Linked DNA regions of Homo sapiens: all the other regions are linked to region 1. The links are contacts of gene promoters, found by promoter capture Hi-C in blood cells and fetal thymus (Javierre and others, 2016). All regions are on one chromosome and are shown on one strand. The core of a region is centred on a gene start or on the middle of the fragment in contact, and the rest is flanking DNA. Distances in the headings are between cores, read along the strand shown. Region 1 holds the start of CTPS2 (CTP synthase 2). Region 2 has its middle 5.2 kb from the start of CLTRN. Region 3 overlaps NHS (NHS actin remodeling regulator). Region 4 holds the start of BMX (BMX non-receptor tyrosine kinase).

Region 1 (3,842 bases), core at 420-2,919:
CCTTGTGGGCACTAAACCCAAGGCCAGTGATGCCCATCTCACTTTTCTATTCCATTGTAGCTGCCACACCCCAAACTGTCTCATTTCCTGGAATATCCATTTGAAGGCCTGAACTCCAGCACCACACTCTCTGCTGCCAGTTTGCCAGTCCTCTCCTCAGAGGCCCTGGCCTTGGAGCCCTTCTCTCATCTGTCTCCCAGTCCATCAGCTCCCCGCTGGTTTTATTAACAGTTCCTGTCCTCTAGGACTAGAGCTCTGGCCCATCACTGCAATCGCAGTCTTTCTGTGCCCTCCACCTCCTCACCCTCTTGTCCTTCTATTCTATGCAAGCAGGAAACTTGGGTTTCATAACTAAGAGCTATATTTCTGTAGATACCTTGCCAGATTATAGCAGATTATAGCTGGACACCACTACACGATGATGGTTTCTAAACTCCACTAGGTCTTCAGTGACTCTTGTCTAACTTGTCGCTCTAGCATCTCACACTGGTTATGCGAAATTTCCACCACTTTCCTAAAACCTTCCATCTCACTTCAGACCCTTCTGTTGTCCATGTTAGCTTCCTTCAGTGGTTGGCTTCTTGCCTTCACCCGAAAAACCTCCTGTATCCGTTCCCAGCACCAATCATCCTCCAATACTCTTTTTTTTTTTTTTTTTTGAGACAAAGTCTCCTCTGTCACCCAGGCTGGAGTGCAGTGGCCTGATCTCGGCTCACTGCAACCTCTGCCTCCCAGGTTCAAGCGATTCTCTCTGCCTCAGCCTTCGGAGTAGGTGGGATTACAGGCAGGTGCCACCACACCTGGCTAATTTTGCATTTTTAGTAGAGACAGGGTTACACCACGTTGGCCAGGCTGGTCTCGAACTCCCGACCTCAGGTGATCCGCCTGCCTTGGCCTCCCAAAGTGCTGGGATTACAGGCGTGAGTCACCCGAAGAGTGACTTTTTAGAGTATTTGGGCGGGGTGCAGTGGCTCAAGCCTGTAATCCCAGCATTTTGGGAGGCAAGGCAGGAGGATCAGCTGAGGTCGGGAGTTCGAGACCAGCCTGGCCAACGTGATGTAACCCCGTTTCTGTTAAAAATGCAAAATTAGCCGAGCTTTTTGGCATCCGCCTGTAATCCCAGCTACTCCGGGGGCTGAGGCAGGGACAATCGCTTGAACCCGGGAGGCGGAGGTTGCAGTGAGCCCAGATCGCGCCATTGCACTCCAGCCTGGGCAAAAAGGGCGAACGAAACTCCGTCTCAAAAAAAAAAAAAAAAAAAAAGTCACTCTTGGAAGCCTTAATTGCCTTCCTCCCCTCACTGCACCCCCGCAACTCTTTGCTGCAGAAGTATTGTTCTAGGGAACCTTACTGGTTCCAACAGACGGGTGGACCTCCCACCAGACTGTGAGCTAGCTCCTCAAAGGCAGGCATTCTCTTTCCTTTTCCTTCTCTCCTGAGCGCTCCTGCAGTTCCTGGGGCGTAGTAGGGGATCCACAAGCGTTTGTGACCAGTGAAGTTCTTTACAAGGGTGAGATCTGCACGGGAGGACCCGAGCGAGGGTCTCGGCTTGCCAGGAAGCCGGGGTTCCCCGGGAAGCGTGGAGTTCACCCGCGCACTCGAAGTGCCTTTGCAAAGTGAGCCACGGGAGGGAGGAGCGGTCCCCGGGCTGGGCGAGGCCTGGGGCCCAGTGCGTCCAGAGCGGAGGGTGACGGGAGCTGCCTGTGCTGGAGGAATCACTTTTTAGGCGCTTGTTTTGGACCATTGCACAAACCCGGGTGCAAACCCCAAGCTCACCAGCGTGAGTGAGCTGGGCCAGCAGCAGGGAGGAGAGGGGAAGGTGGGCGAGGAGGGCGCCGCGCACCCCGAGGCCCGTGTGGGCGGTGGGAAGATCCCGGGGGCGGCTTTGGACAGCCCCGGCAGCGACCCCTTCCCCAGCCCGACAGGTGAGCGCCAGGCCAGCCGCGGGGTGGAGCCCGCCGTGCCCACCGGCCACCCTCCCCGGTGCTACCACCACCGCGCAGGTAACTTCCCTTCTGGGCCTGTCCCAGACCCCCAGGGCCTCGGCGCCCGGGCCATCCCTCGTCCCCAGGGCCTCTCCGCCCTGCACCCCCAGCCCCGGTGCACTTGTGGGGCCGGGCTCCTTTGTCCGCTCTCTGATGGCGCCGGCTCCCTGCCCAGCGCTGAGTCGGGTCCGGCCGCCAGCCCCGCGCTCGCAGACCTCGGCTGCCGGGTGTGGCGCGGGGACTGGGGAACGCTGGCCCGTGCCCAGTGCGGTTGGAGCCTGTCCCGCGCGTCCCCGGGACGCGCTTCTTCCCGCCTCCGCCCGCGCCAGCGCCCGCACCCGGATCCCCACTTCTCCCGGCCCTCGGGAGCCAGGAGAGCCCTGAGATGGCGTTGGCGGAAGTGAAGCCCCGAGCGGGGGTCTGCGAGGCTGGTGATCAGCGCCGGTAACATGGCCTTTCTGTCCTCTCCCCGGTCCCAGTGCACCCCTTAAACAACGACCCCCGCGTTTTCCCCGTACTAGATGGTTAGGGCGCATAGTGCCGAACTACGCTGCTGCTACAGAATAGCTTTTTTGGGGGCAACATAAAAAAGAATTGTATGTATGGTTTATATACAACAAAATGTCCCATTTTCAGTGTGCAAATCGACGGGATTTGACAAATTATACACTCCTGTAACCATTATCCCAAAGTGAACATTGACCATTTCCTTCACCCTGCAAAGTTCCCTGGTACCTCCTTTCTGTCAATCCACCCCAGGCCCCGCACTCAACCCCGGTTCTGATTGTTATCATAGCTTAGCTTTGACTGTTCTAGAACTTCATAGAACAAGATCATCAGGTAAGTACTCTTTTGTGTCTAACATTACTTTTTAAATGGCCATCACTGAGAAGGTGTCTCTGGGTGCTTCCGGTGCTTTTATTTGCTCTAGGCCTGCCTGGTCTAATGTGGGAGCCACTGGTCACATGTGGTTATTGAATACTGGAAATGTGGCAAAATCCGTACTGAGATGTGCTCTGAGTACAGGCACCTGATTTCTGAAAGCTTAGTACACAAAAAAGATGTCAAATATCTCACTAATACATTCTTACATTGTGCGTTAAAAGTGATAACATTTTTGGCTACATTGGGTTAAATAACATATATTAACATGAACTTCATTTGATTCTTTTTACTTTTTTAATATGGCTACTAGAAACTTAAAATTACGTACCTGGCTGTGTAATATTTTTTATTAGGTAGTGGAGACAGCACAGCTCTACACTGTGCTATCCTATAAACACTTGGTTCTGCTCACTGCATGTAAGAGTAAATGAAAAACTTGTCTTGACACCAGAAACAATCCTCAATGGAGGAAGTGATCTAAAACAGGGCCAGCCTTTCCCTGAACCTTTGAAACTTTGTTAAACTTACTTGTGTGCTTAAAAGAAGTAGAGGGCCGGGCATGGTGGCTCATGCCTGTAATCCCAGCACTTTGGGAGGCCGAGGTGGGCGGATCACGAGGTCAAGAGATCAAGACCATCCTGGACAACATGGTGAAACCCTGTCTCTACTAAAGATACAAAAATTAGCTGGGAATGGTGGCATGCACCTGTAGTCCCAGCTACTTGGGAGGCTGAGGCAGGAGAATTGCTTGAACCCGGGAGGCGGAGGTTGCAGTGAGCCCAGATCGTGTCATTGCACTCCAGCCTGGTGACAGAGCGCGACTCCAACTCAAAACAACAACAACAACAACAAAGTAGGAAGAATTAGGTGTCCCCTTGGTATTAAGTTGCATTTTTACAAAAGGTCTCTAAAATATCCAAGGTGCTTTAAAAAGGTATCTTGTGTTTTTGAAAAAACAGAAAATGAGCAATT
Region 2 (3,780 bases), core at 1,192-3,691, 1.0 Mb after region 1:
TACCAAGGATACTGGAAATTGTGTGTGTGTGTGTGTGTGTGTGTGTGTGTGTGTGTGTGCGCGCATAAAATTAAGCATACCAAAAGATTGTAACATCATCTGTTCTATATTCTAAAATTATTATTAAAATAAGCTCATTTATCTTTTTATTAAGATGGCCAATGAAAAATAATTTCCTGTTTTTTGTAGTCATGGGCACGTAGTGGGCTGCCAGTCCAACAGCCTGTGATTAGTAAATAAAGGGCACATTGGAAACTCACTGTCAGGGAATGTCCTTCCCATCTCCCATTGTCCTTCTCTGTGTCATTTACAATGAACCCATTCCCACATTGAAATCTTCATTAGCCTCTCAGGACCATTGTTGGAGAATCCAGACTCTCTGACCTCTAAGATCAGAACCCAACTTGGCTTTTCAGATGCATCTACACTGATGCTCTCTCCCCCATCTTCCTCTGAACCACTCTACCAGCAAGTCCCTGCTGTTGGCCATATCCTGTATCTGTCCTTTGTGTTTGTTTTCAGATTTCCTTAACTTGTATCCTGTGGGCTTTCATGTTTTATCTTTAAACATCTTGCCATTGTTCCAGGTCTATCTTGATTATCATTGAGAAACCTTTCTTCTATTTTTCTTTTGTTAACAGTTTTATAATTGACTTGTCAAATCCAGTAACTTTTTATCCTCTTTTTCTCCAGTGTTCCTATAGCATTTTGTTCACAATTGTATGTGCATCTATTGCCATCGTGATTTACTTTTGTGTCCTACAAAATTGTAAGTTCCTGAAGGGCAGAGACTATATTTGGTTCATTTTTGCATTTCTCGTAGCCCATGAATATGATAGTTTAAGAAAACTGAGTTGACTAATTTGAATCATAAACTGAAGTTCTAATAAGCTTGTGACTGGAAATTAAGTACCATGAAATGCATTGCAATGTATATATTTTTACATTCTTAGCCTTAGAGAAACCACACACACACACACACACACACACACACACACACACACACACACACACACACACACACTTGTCTCCCTTTTTTCTTCTGTTCTTCCTTGTGTGGGTTATTTCCATTAACTCAACTACAAGAAGAAAAGAGTTACCTAAATGACATTTTTAAAGTTTGTGGGGGTGTTTTGCAGCATCCCTGGCCTCTACCCACTAGATGCCAGTAGAATCCTCTCATCTGCCATTCATGATGACTAAAAATGTCACCAGACGTTGCCAAGTGTCTCTGGAGCACAAAATCACCCCCAATTGAAAACCACTGAGTTAAAATAGAACTTACACACAATAGACAAAAATACTTTGTCTCTCCATGTATCTTAACACTGACAATTTAAAGAGAATAAAATTATTTTTGTTGCCTAATTATACTGAAAACATTGTATAAATTATTAATAATACAAACATCTTGATATTGTTTATTATATATAGTATATCCATTTCATTACAATTTAAACAAGGAAGGATGTCATTTATTAAAATTCTACAACATTTAGGAAATCATTGAGTAGAGCCATTTAATTAAGATATTAAAACTTCCAAAGGGGTTTGTGTGTGTGTGTGTGTGTGTGTGTGTGTGTGTGTGTGTGTGTTTTGTTTTTGGTTTTTGTTTTTTTTATTTTTTGAGACAGAGTCTCGCTCTGTCACACAGACTGGAGTGTGGTGGCACAATCATGGCTCACTGCAGCCTCAACCTCCCTGGGCTCAGGTGATCCTCCTGCCTCAGCCTTCCAAGTTGCTGGGACCACAGGTGCATGCCACCAAGCCTGGCTAATTTTTGTACTTTTTGTAGAGAGGGGGTTTCGCCATGTTGTCCAGGCCTGTCTTGAACTCTTGGACTCAAGCAATCTGCTTGCCTCGCCCTCCCAAAGTGCTGGGATTACAGGCATGAGCCACCATGCCCAGCAGCAAAAAGTGTGAAGTTTTAAAATCTTATACAAAGTTTCTATGTTCAATTATTAAAAGTTTTAATTGATTTCTTTTAATGTGTCACAGCCAGATAACATTTCTGAAAATCCAATAAAAATATACAGAATAATGTCACATTTGAGATGGTTTTACAGTTTACTAATTTTAGGAGCTATATATTTACTAAATTTCTGTTTTTGATAATGAAACAAAATAACCAGGGTCAATTTTAAAAGAAACATTGGTCATCTCCACCTCTTGCTTTATTGGAGGTGAATGGAGCCTACATACGCCCACGTATTTATACGAATCTAGTGAACTTAAGGGATCTTGCATGAATCAAAAGAACGACACATGTGTTTTCTTTTCATGTGATCTCATATTCTGTTTACCCCAGAGCAGTAGATCCATAGTTATGTGCCCAGAAAGTGCTTTTCAAGAGTGTTGTGGAGTATAAAAAACACGGAGAAATCAATTTCGTTTTCCCATCTCAGGAGACTCAGTGCCCTTTTGTGTGGCTCATGGCAACAGTAATCTGAACTTTTAAATCTACATGCTCTAAACTCTGAACGTTTGGAAGTAAATAGTAACATATTCAGAATGATTGAACTGCTTTATTTGTCATCATTACCATGGTTACTAATAAGTTATGAAGCTCCCATATGTGAAATTGCTGAAATGAGCATTTTATGAAGCAATTTATACAGATATGAAGGCTCTGGAAACTTACTACTTAAAACTTGTACATCAAGACAAGCACTAAATTTGTGCAAGACTTTGAAAAGTATAGGAAAATATAATATGCTGAGAGGCAAGAACCCTAGTATCTAGTTCTGTTTTCCATTTATTTTACTGAGATCTCCATCAAACTATTTAACAATGAATTTGTTACAGTATGTAACCAATATAAATAAGATTTATGAATCAAAAAACAGAAAGAATTGCAAATTATGTCCAAGATCTTCTTCTTTGATTAAACAACAAAGATAATATAATCAAAATGAGAAAATTAATACACGTATTAGAAAATATAAAGAGAACATAACAACAAAAGTAGATATTTTATGGGAAATACTCTATAAAGTCCATGAGGATACTAGAAAATCTTAACAGAATATTTTCTTGGAAATTGTAAACAGCCAAAATGGATTCAGAAAGAGGTATAAAACCTGAAATAAATGATAATGTAAGGAATGAAAAATTTTGAAGAACTCTTCCTCTAAAATGCACATGGTCCAGATTCTTCATCTGTGAACTCTTTATTTCTGGTACATTATATGTATTTCTAAACATAGACAATGTTAGAAATCTTTCTGTATCATTTTCAAGATGGTAAAGGCTAGGAAAAAAAACGCTTCAAGAATCAGCACTTGAAAAGGAACCTACCTGATATTCTTTTAAGAAAATAGGTTTAAAAATCATAGGGGAAAAACCAGGAATTGATTCCAGCAGCATACTAAAAATAAATTAAAAAAATGTTTTATCTAAGAATTGAATCAATGTGAAAAATGTATTAATGTAATACACCAAATGGTAAAAATTTTAATAGTGAAAAGCAGTTGATAAAATGCAACACCAATTACTGAGGAAAATAATTTTTTGTAATTACAAATATAATGCTCGTATCACATGACACATCATTTTTAAAGCCACTTGCCAGATTCCGTGCAGTAGTGGCATTCCTATTAGAGTAAAGAAGAAGACAAGGGTGCGTCTTATTCCCATCATTGTATTACTCTGTTCTGATAGTGCCACTGCAGTGAGAAAAAACAACATCCTACAAGAACATATAAAGAGATCCAAGGCTAAGGAAGGCGCATTCTAACTATGAAAATATATTAGCATTGGTCATCCATTCTGGTAGTATTA
Region 3 (3,246 bases), core at 326-2,825, 1.0 Mb before region 1:
AATTTTTAAAAAATGAAAAAATTTCCCCTACACAACATAGATACGTTGTATAAACATAAAAGAACAAAAAATCGCATCAGTGCAAACAACAGAAGAAAAGTTCGGATTGATGTTCTTCACAATACCTAACGTGTGTACCCTGCTTCAAGACGGCAGTGATGTTAAAGACAGCCCTAAATCTTGGTCTTGTTTGCTATGTAATCAAGCCATGTAGAATATTCCAGATTATTAGGGAACTTCCTGCTTTTTCTTCTCAGTTTGTAACTCAATACTCTTTTCCACAGTGAATTTTAAATCCATCTTTATTTGGGTTTTTTAAATCTATGAAATATAAAATAGAGAAACTCTGCTATAGATTTTTAGAGTAAACAAAATAAGTAAAACTATATTATAAGGGTTAGTTCTGTGATCATTACATATAGAAGGTATCTTATTGCCTCACAATTCAAGTCAATATGTATTTTAAAAAATATATGGTACCATTACTTAATGTCAATAATAAAAAGGTGACATTTTTATTAAAGCCAATTCATGTGTTTTCTATTCAAGATTTAGAATCACTTTTAAAGCCCACATACCTTTCTTCACACTTAAAAAACCCCTAACTACACAAAAGCCATACTGCAAACGAACTGCTTTTATGAAATTACGAAAGATCGCCTACTGTGACTGGAAATGACGGTTTCTTATCGCATTTGCCTAAAAACTTTATTTTTAAAACTTTGCAAGGTGTACTTTTCAAATCATGAGACAGATTTATTCATGTTCCCATGTGGTGTCAAACCATGCTGGTTTTCTTAATTAATGGGTTCCAATGAGAAATGGTGGTCCATTTTATTCAAACCCCAAAATATTTTTCTTTTAAGAAAAAGTGTGACATTTTGTAAATGTTCAAACCCTTTACCAGGTAGCTTATCTATCCCCAGTGTGTGTGCGTACACACACACTCACACTCACACACACCCATACACACTCTCTCTGACTCTCCCTCCTCTTATACCCCTCCACCCCCAGCACCCATTTTACATACAAGGATGACAAGAAATTTAGTAACACAGTTTGGTAGTGAAAACAAATAGTAGAAGAAGCCAGACATTTTTTTTCTTTCCAAACAAACAAAACAACAGCAATCAGATTATCTATTCTTAATCTGTAGCAGTTTAGAAATCATTTCTATTGAAAGACAGTATCTTCTTAGACCAGGCTTCCTCCTTCATTTTGCATGAATTAATCCAAAATGCAAACCCTCTTCCACACCTCCTACTTTCCCAACTACCACTTGCATAAGCTTAAAGCCAGCAGCTTGTCAATTTCTTGGTAACATTGGTATGTTCTATCACTCTAATCACATTCTAGTCTTTTATAAGTCAGATCCCTTCTTAATTCTCTCTCTGTTCTACCTCTCCCATTCAAAACCTATTCTAAGTACATAGCTGCTTATATTTCTGACATAAGATTCCAAACATTAGTATAAGTTCATGTTAAAATCAGAGGTGTAAAAACCATTTGCAGATTTTAACGTGTAACTACATTTTTTTTTCAGTTTTAAGACAAGAAAATTCAAGTAATTTCAAGTAATTCAGCTTGTTTCCCTGCCTTTATTTTATCAGAGCACATGCCCTGACATTTCCTCTCCCACCCTCCACCCTCCCCTTTTGCCATCAAGCAGACACTATAGTAAAACCAGACAAAAACTCAGTTGTATGTAGTATTGTGAACCAGAGCTGTTCCCCATTCCCAGTTTAACAATGAGTATAAATAATGCATATACACATACCTATTTTCCAACTACATTGTTCACAGTGTCATTTCTGTTAATTTTTAGGTAGCATGAATCTCATCAGCACAGAGAGAAAGCTTCACTGAAAACTCATTACAGGTACTTACTGATTAATCAATAGCTCTGTGGCATGCTTAGGTTTTATTTTTGTTAGTTTAAGAACCTGGAGCTAATTTCTAAACTGTTTAAGGAGTTTAATGATTACAGTCATTAGTTATGACCGTTTATGTCCCCAGTAGCCTAATATAAAACATAACCTAAAATTAACTACTATTTTCCCTACTCATTCTCTTTAAAGCAATCCATTGAAAAAATTAAAATCTAAAGGACACTGTCAAATGCTGTTGTTCAGGGCTTTGTGTTGAGAATGATGACTTCTCTCACTGATTAAAAAAAAAATCAAAAGCATGCTTTTCATTCTGTCCAAATTACCACACAACAAATCACAGCCATGGGTTGCTATTAGTTTGTTTGGTGCTGCAATTTGTCATAAAAATGATTAGATCTGAATTCATTATTTTAATTTATTCATATTTCAGTATATGACCTCAAGATTTCCTTTAGTTCACCAGTTTAAAATTCATATTTGAGGTTTACCACTCAGAAATCATATTGGTGGACATTTAAATATGGCATTTGATATGAAAATGGTATTCACAGAATACAGTTATTACATTTTATTTTTGTGTATTCTATAAACAGTTGGTGTGCAGTAGATAATTGACCACATGTCCACTCATCATTGATAAATCTATTTACACATTTTTATCAAAAATATGGTATTTACATATGTGTAGTTCTTTCTTCTAAATTTTGCTTTAGTTTGTTTTAATGTAAAAAAATACCAAACATCCAGAGTAATTTCATCTTCTTAAAGAATAATGACAGTGAGGGCTTTAGTTTCTGAATAGGCAGCTCTGGGAAAACGTTTTCTAGGTGTCATGAAAATTAGACAATTTTGTATCCTCTATTTTCACAAGGAAGGAGATTGCGTAAATCAAACTATGCTAAAGAAAAACATGAAAGACTGCAGCTACTTAAAATATGGAAACTAATCAAGAATGTCTAAACCACTTTCTGTTTACCCAGCACATACTGTATTTAGAAATTCATTCATTGCTTAGCAGTGATGCTACCCCATCAAGTTGAGACTTTTCCCAAGTCCTCTGTTCTGTTCCTCCATCCTCATGTGAGTAAGGGTTTTGGCCTTTGCCAGGCAGCCTGGTACAGGCAGTCTATGTTGAACTCTGGGAGGAACGGTCGTCATGTGGGCTCCCGTCAGAATTTTCCGTCTCTCCCTCGGAGATTGCCTGCATGGGCGTATTGTACAGCCGGCAGCGGACACTGTAGCGGCTGCTGCTGGCTGCAGGAGGGGCCCGAGAACGTCCAACCCTTGCTGATGCTGAGGTGGCAAAGCTCTTCGAGGAAAAGCCTTCTGCATTAACTCGTGGGGAGCATGGAGAGAG
Region 4 (3,975 bases), core at 658-3,157, 1.2 Mb after region 1:
AATGCTAGAGAAGGACATGCCTGCTGTGTGACCCTCCTAAACCAGAGACTGCTCTAACCTAAATACAGGAAGGCAGTCATAGGATGTCAAATCTTATAAGAAACCTAGAAGTCATTTTACAGATGTAACACTGAGCCCCAGCAGCCTAAGTGACTTAGCCAGTACTGTTAACCAGTGACCTAAGAGGCATGGCCCTGGGAGCCAGCTTCAGGTGTCATACCTGTACACCATCCACTCCATGATGGCAGTAAACAGAGTAGGAGATATCTGTGTGTTCAGCCAAACATACTACAGCTTTGCTAAGGGACATAGTTTGGTGAAACTACCCATAAATCTGAGTCTTAACAGACCAGTGCAAGAGACATTTTATTGGAAATATCAGAAAGATGTTACCTATAATCTTTCGATAGGAATCTCCTGCTGAAAGGCAGTGTTAAATAGCAAAATTTGAAACCACATTCTGAAAATAGGTAAGAACATACAACCTCAAAAGTTGGAATAAATTCTCAGTGGTACAGAAGGGGAGCAGGAAACAGGATACCAAGGGAGACAGGGTTATCTAGTTAAGTGGCCATTGGATAGTTCCCTCAACCAGGAAGTGTATTCCCTGACTGGCTCAGGGTGGTGTCTTTAAAGATTTATCTTTTAAAATTCAGAGATAAGGATAGCAATTCCTTACCCTTTGACTTGGTTTAGTTATCCTCTCTTACTTTACATGCCATATAGCTAAAGATTTTGTAGGTGTCAAGATGTTAAAATAATACATGTGGTGGGAGGGCAGTAGAGCAGGAAGGGTGGGAAAGAAAGGGAAGACGCTCCAAGTGGGGTGGGATCTGGAAGGGAAACTGGAGGGCCCTGTGACAAACTTGATCTTCAAATATTTGTCCAAATGCCAGGCCCGCTTATCTTCGTGCTAAATAACTGAACAAAATGTGATGGTAGGTTTAAACAAGAACAAAAAGTTTGACTGAGGATCAAGTAAAGTGGTTCAAAAAGTCTTAGGATGCTGGCCAAAGACAAATACTGGCTTCACAGAACCTGACAGATCCTTATTTCACATGATGTTATGCAGGAGAGGGAAAGTTAAAGTTGATCTTGGCATGATATGGACAGAAATCTTTTAACATTGACAGTCAAATTCTCAGCATCTTGGAGCATCATACCTTAATTGATCCAAAATAAGTGTATAAAAACCAGACACTTTGGGAAGATCATTTTCTCACAAAGAAGGCAAGAATCTTAATGCTAGTCTTTTTGGAGCTAAGTTTTGCTTTAGGTGTGAGATTAATCTTCAGTGCCCCATAGAGCTTTTCTAAGTCTTTTCTTCTTTTCAGTAACCTCTTTCTTTCTGCTCCCTCTCCTCTGCTTAGGGCACTCTCTCTGGGCAACTTCCTTAGGAGAAAAGCAAAAAGTAATAAATCCATGAGCTAGCATCTCATGCTGAATTAAACATGTAACACTGCTTTCATGATGCCGGTTAGTGCAAGTGAAAGCACCGAGCTGGGTTCGAATCCCTGCTCTGTCTCTATGGAATCTGTCATGTTACTTAACCCAGCTAAACCTCAGCTTCCCCATCTGTAAAGGCAGTGAAACAATAACCACTTCGAAGGGTTACAAGTAGTCAAGAGAAAATGGCAGCCTAATGCCCAACACCCTAGTAGATATTCTAAAAGCTTATGTCCCTTCTGATCACTCCATAGGCAAAGTTTTAAAAAGGACCATAAAAAGTTAAAAAACTAAAGACAGTGAAATAATAATGATCCTTAATGATAAAATTTTACTTCTCATCCCTCTGTCCCCAGCTCCTGGGTATAGGAGAAAATGGGAGGCAGGAAGACCTCCTCATGTATTGCCATGTCAACAAACACCAGTCCATACATAGTAGGTTTGTCGCAGACTTTCCATCCTGAGACGAGTTACCATAAAATGAGGTTGAACCATACCCTTATTGACTGTGTATTTGTGCCACCATATTTCCTACAAATAAATACTTGGATGTGACTCAAAGTGTGGTCCGTGCACTTGCATCATCCGGGCGATCATTAGACATGCAGACTCTCAGTTCCCACCCGAGACCTCGCGCAGCCAAATCTTCATTTTAGCAAGATCCCCAGGTGATCCACGTGCACAGGAAAGCTTGAGAAGCACTTACATGGACCACAAAGTTGCACTCCTTTTCAAATCCAATGAAATCATTGTGGCCCACAAAATCTTTCAAAATTATATGGATATGAGTACAACTGCATGGTTCACCTCCCTCCCACCTGTCTATCTCCATCTAAAATACACAAAGCACTTGATTTAGGGAGACCTCAGGAACCTAAGAGCAAATATTTGTAGCTAAAGTAACATCATAAAAACACAGTTAAAGAAGGTATAAGGAACATTTCTATGTCTCTTTGGAAGCAGTTATGAGGCCAATATGAAAGGCTATGGAAAGGCAATACCTAAAGAAGCGGATGGAGAAAATTAGCAGAGAATACACACAAAGCTAGGTAGAACTGGTGGTGATACATAAACAACCTGAGAGCTTCCCTAACTGAGATTTTGAGCAAGGAGTGAATTTACAGTGAAATTATAGCAGTTTCAGCCGTTGGCCTCCAAATTACCTGGTCCCATCTAAAGTCCCAGAGAAAGCCCTGGCAATTTCATATTAAAAATGTTGTACTATTTTTCTTAAAGTGAGCTTCCCAAAGTTTGTAACTTCAGGCCCCACAACACCGGGAACCAAACCTATTTTCCGCATAGTATGCGACACTGAGTAGCCACCTGCCGCTTAAACGCACCGTCTCAGCTTGTTCCGTGCTTGCCTGGGTCCGCCGCGGTGCTTGGTCTGCTGTTGCAGGAACACGGCCCCGGCTGTCCTGTTTCCAGAAGCAAATTGTTTCACATTTTCCTGGCTGCCGGGTCAGAAATGGCTACATTACTCAGTGCCCCCAACACGTTTATTGTCCTACAGAGCCTTACACAATCCCACAGGAAACCACGCTCAACACTTAGCCAACACTTGTTGATCTGATTGAACGCAACAAAAACGGAGACAAAAGCATACTTCATAAAGTTTCCAATTTTGATAACTATAGCTCCCACTTTTCCCAGGCAGCTCTCGGGTACATGTGATAACCCTGCCTTTGTTTGTAGAGCTCTATGCTGGAAAGGACAAGAAAATATCTCGGCAAAACCCGACTGCTGACGCTGACTTCTCTCACATGAGCCAGGAAACCATTAGGTAATGCAAAGTGCACAGAGAATATGCAATGAAAACTTCAACTCAACATTTGGACAAAGGAAGGCCAGAGAATATGTAAGAACAGTTCATATGATGGAAAAGGAGCTTATTTATATAGTTTAAGTTATTAAGAAATCCAGAAATGGAAAATAGATTGTTTTTGCTAAGGTATGGTACACCTAGATCGCAATGAAAAAGTGTGTCACTTGACATCATTATGACAGACTCACAACTTTTGGCTTCCCCCATTCCACTATTTTCTCTGGTGCATACCGGCTGGCCATCTGTAATAAATCTAAGGACATATTTTATGTCCTGCTATGGATAGCCAAGAAAAGTAATCATCCTTTTGGCATGCATTGACACACTGTGTTTACTTATAAATTGTTGCTTACTGTAACTTATTTGTAAGTATCTATGATGTGAAGAAGTCTTGGGTTGGCAGAAGAGAGTGAAGCTACTGGCTTTCAAAGAGGTATTCTTTTGAGTGTACATGGAATTAGCATCATTTCTATTAATTCGTTCAGTCAAGTCTTATTTGAGAACCTGCCATGTGCTGAGCATTCCGTTAGGGGTTGGAGACACAAGAGCAAACAGAAGAGAGGCAGCCCACATCTTCAAGGGGCTTATGTGTCTGTGTGGGGGGGGGGGGAACCACAAATAGTGGTTTAATTACAGTAGAGTATGGGAAAAATAACTTGCAGAAATATTTTTTAATATTTCAGTTTGGAAACTAGAATTTTGGG

What was found. Contacts are between HindIII fragments. The CHiCAGO score rates a contact against its expected background, and 5 or more counts as called.
Region 2: a fragment that was not itself captured here is called in contact with the fragment with the promoter of CTPS2 in region 1 in 1 of 17 cell types (naive CD4 T cells); the score reaches 5.2 in naive CD4 T cells.
Region 3: a contact is called between a fragment that was not itself captured here and the fragment with the promoter of CTPS2 in region 1, in 1 of 17 cell types (total B cells). The highest score is 5.3, in total B cells.
Region 4: a fragment that was not itself captured here is called in contact with the fragment with the promoter of CTPS2 in region 1 in 1 of 17 cell types (total B cells); the score reaches 6.1 in total B cells.

The regions. Positions count from the first base shown.
Region 1 is chrX:16,710,496-16,714,337 of GRCh38, reverse strand. It overlaps CTPS2 (CTP synthase 2), which reads left to right and starts at 1,669. Exons shown (of 19, transcript NM_175859.3): 1 at 1,669-2,003. RefSeq lists silencers at 1,797-1,886, 1,947-2,216. The HindIII fragment of the contact is 10,682 bases long and covers 1-3,031 here.
Region 2 is chrX:15,668,124-15,671,903 of GRCh38, reverse strand. It overlaps a transcript of CLTRN not described here. Among named protein-coding and RNA genes, the nearest start is that of CLTRN, 5.2 kb to the right of the region's middle. The HindIII fragment of the contact is 3,095 bases long and covers 894-3,780 here.
Region 3 is chrX:17,732,234-17,735,479 of GRCh38, reverse strand. NHS (NHS actin remodeling regulator) reads right to left here. Exons shown (of 9, transcript NM_001291867.2): 9 at 1-3,246. The coding sequence ends at 3,016. Among named protein-coding and RNA genes, the nearest start is that of SCML1, 3.6 kb to the left of the region's middle. The HindIII fragment of the contact is 569 bases long and covers 1,291-1,859 here.
Region 4 is chrX:15,499,752-15,503,726 of GRCh38, reverse strand. It overlaps BMX (BMX non-receptor tyrosine kinase), which reads right to left and starts at 2,920. Exons shown (of 19, transcript NM_203281.3): 1 at 2,787-2,920. The HindIII fragment of the contact is 463 bases long and covers 1,676-2,138 here.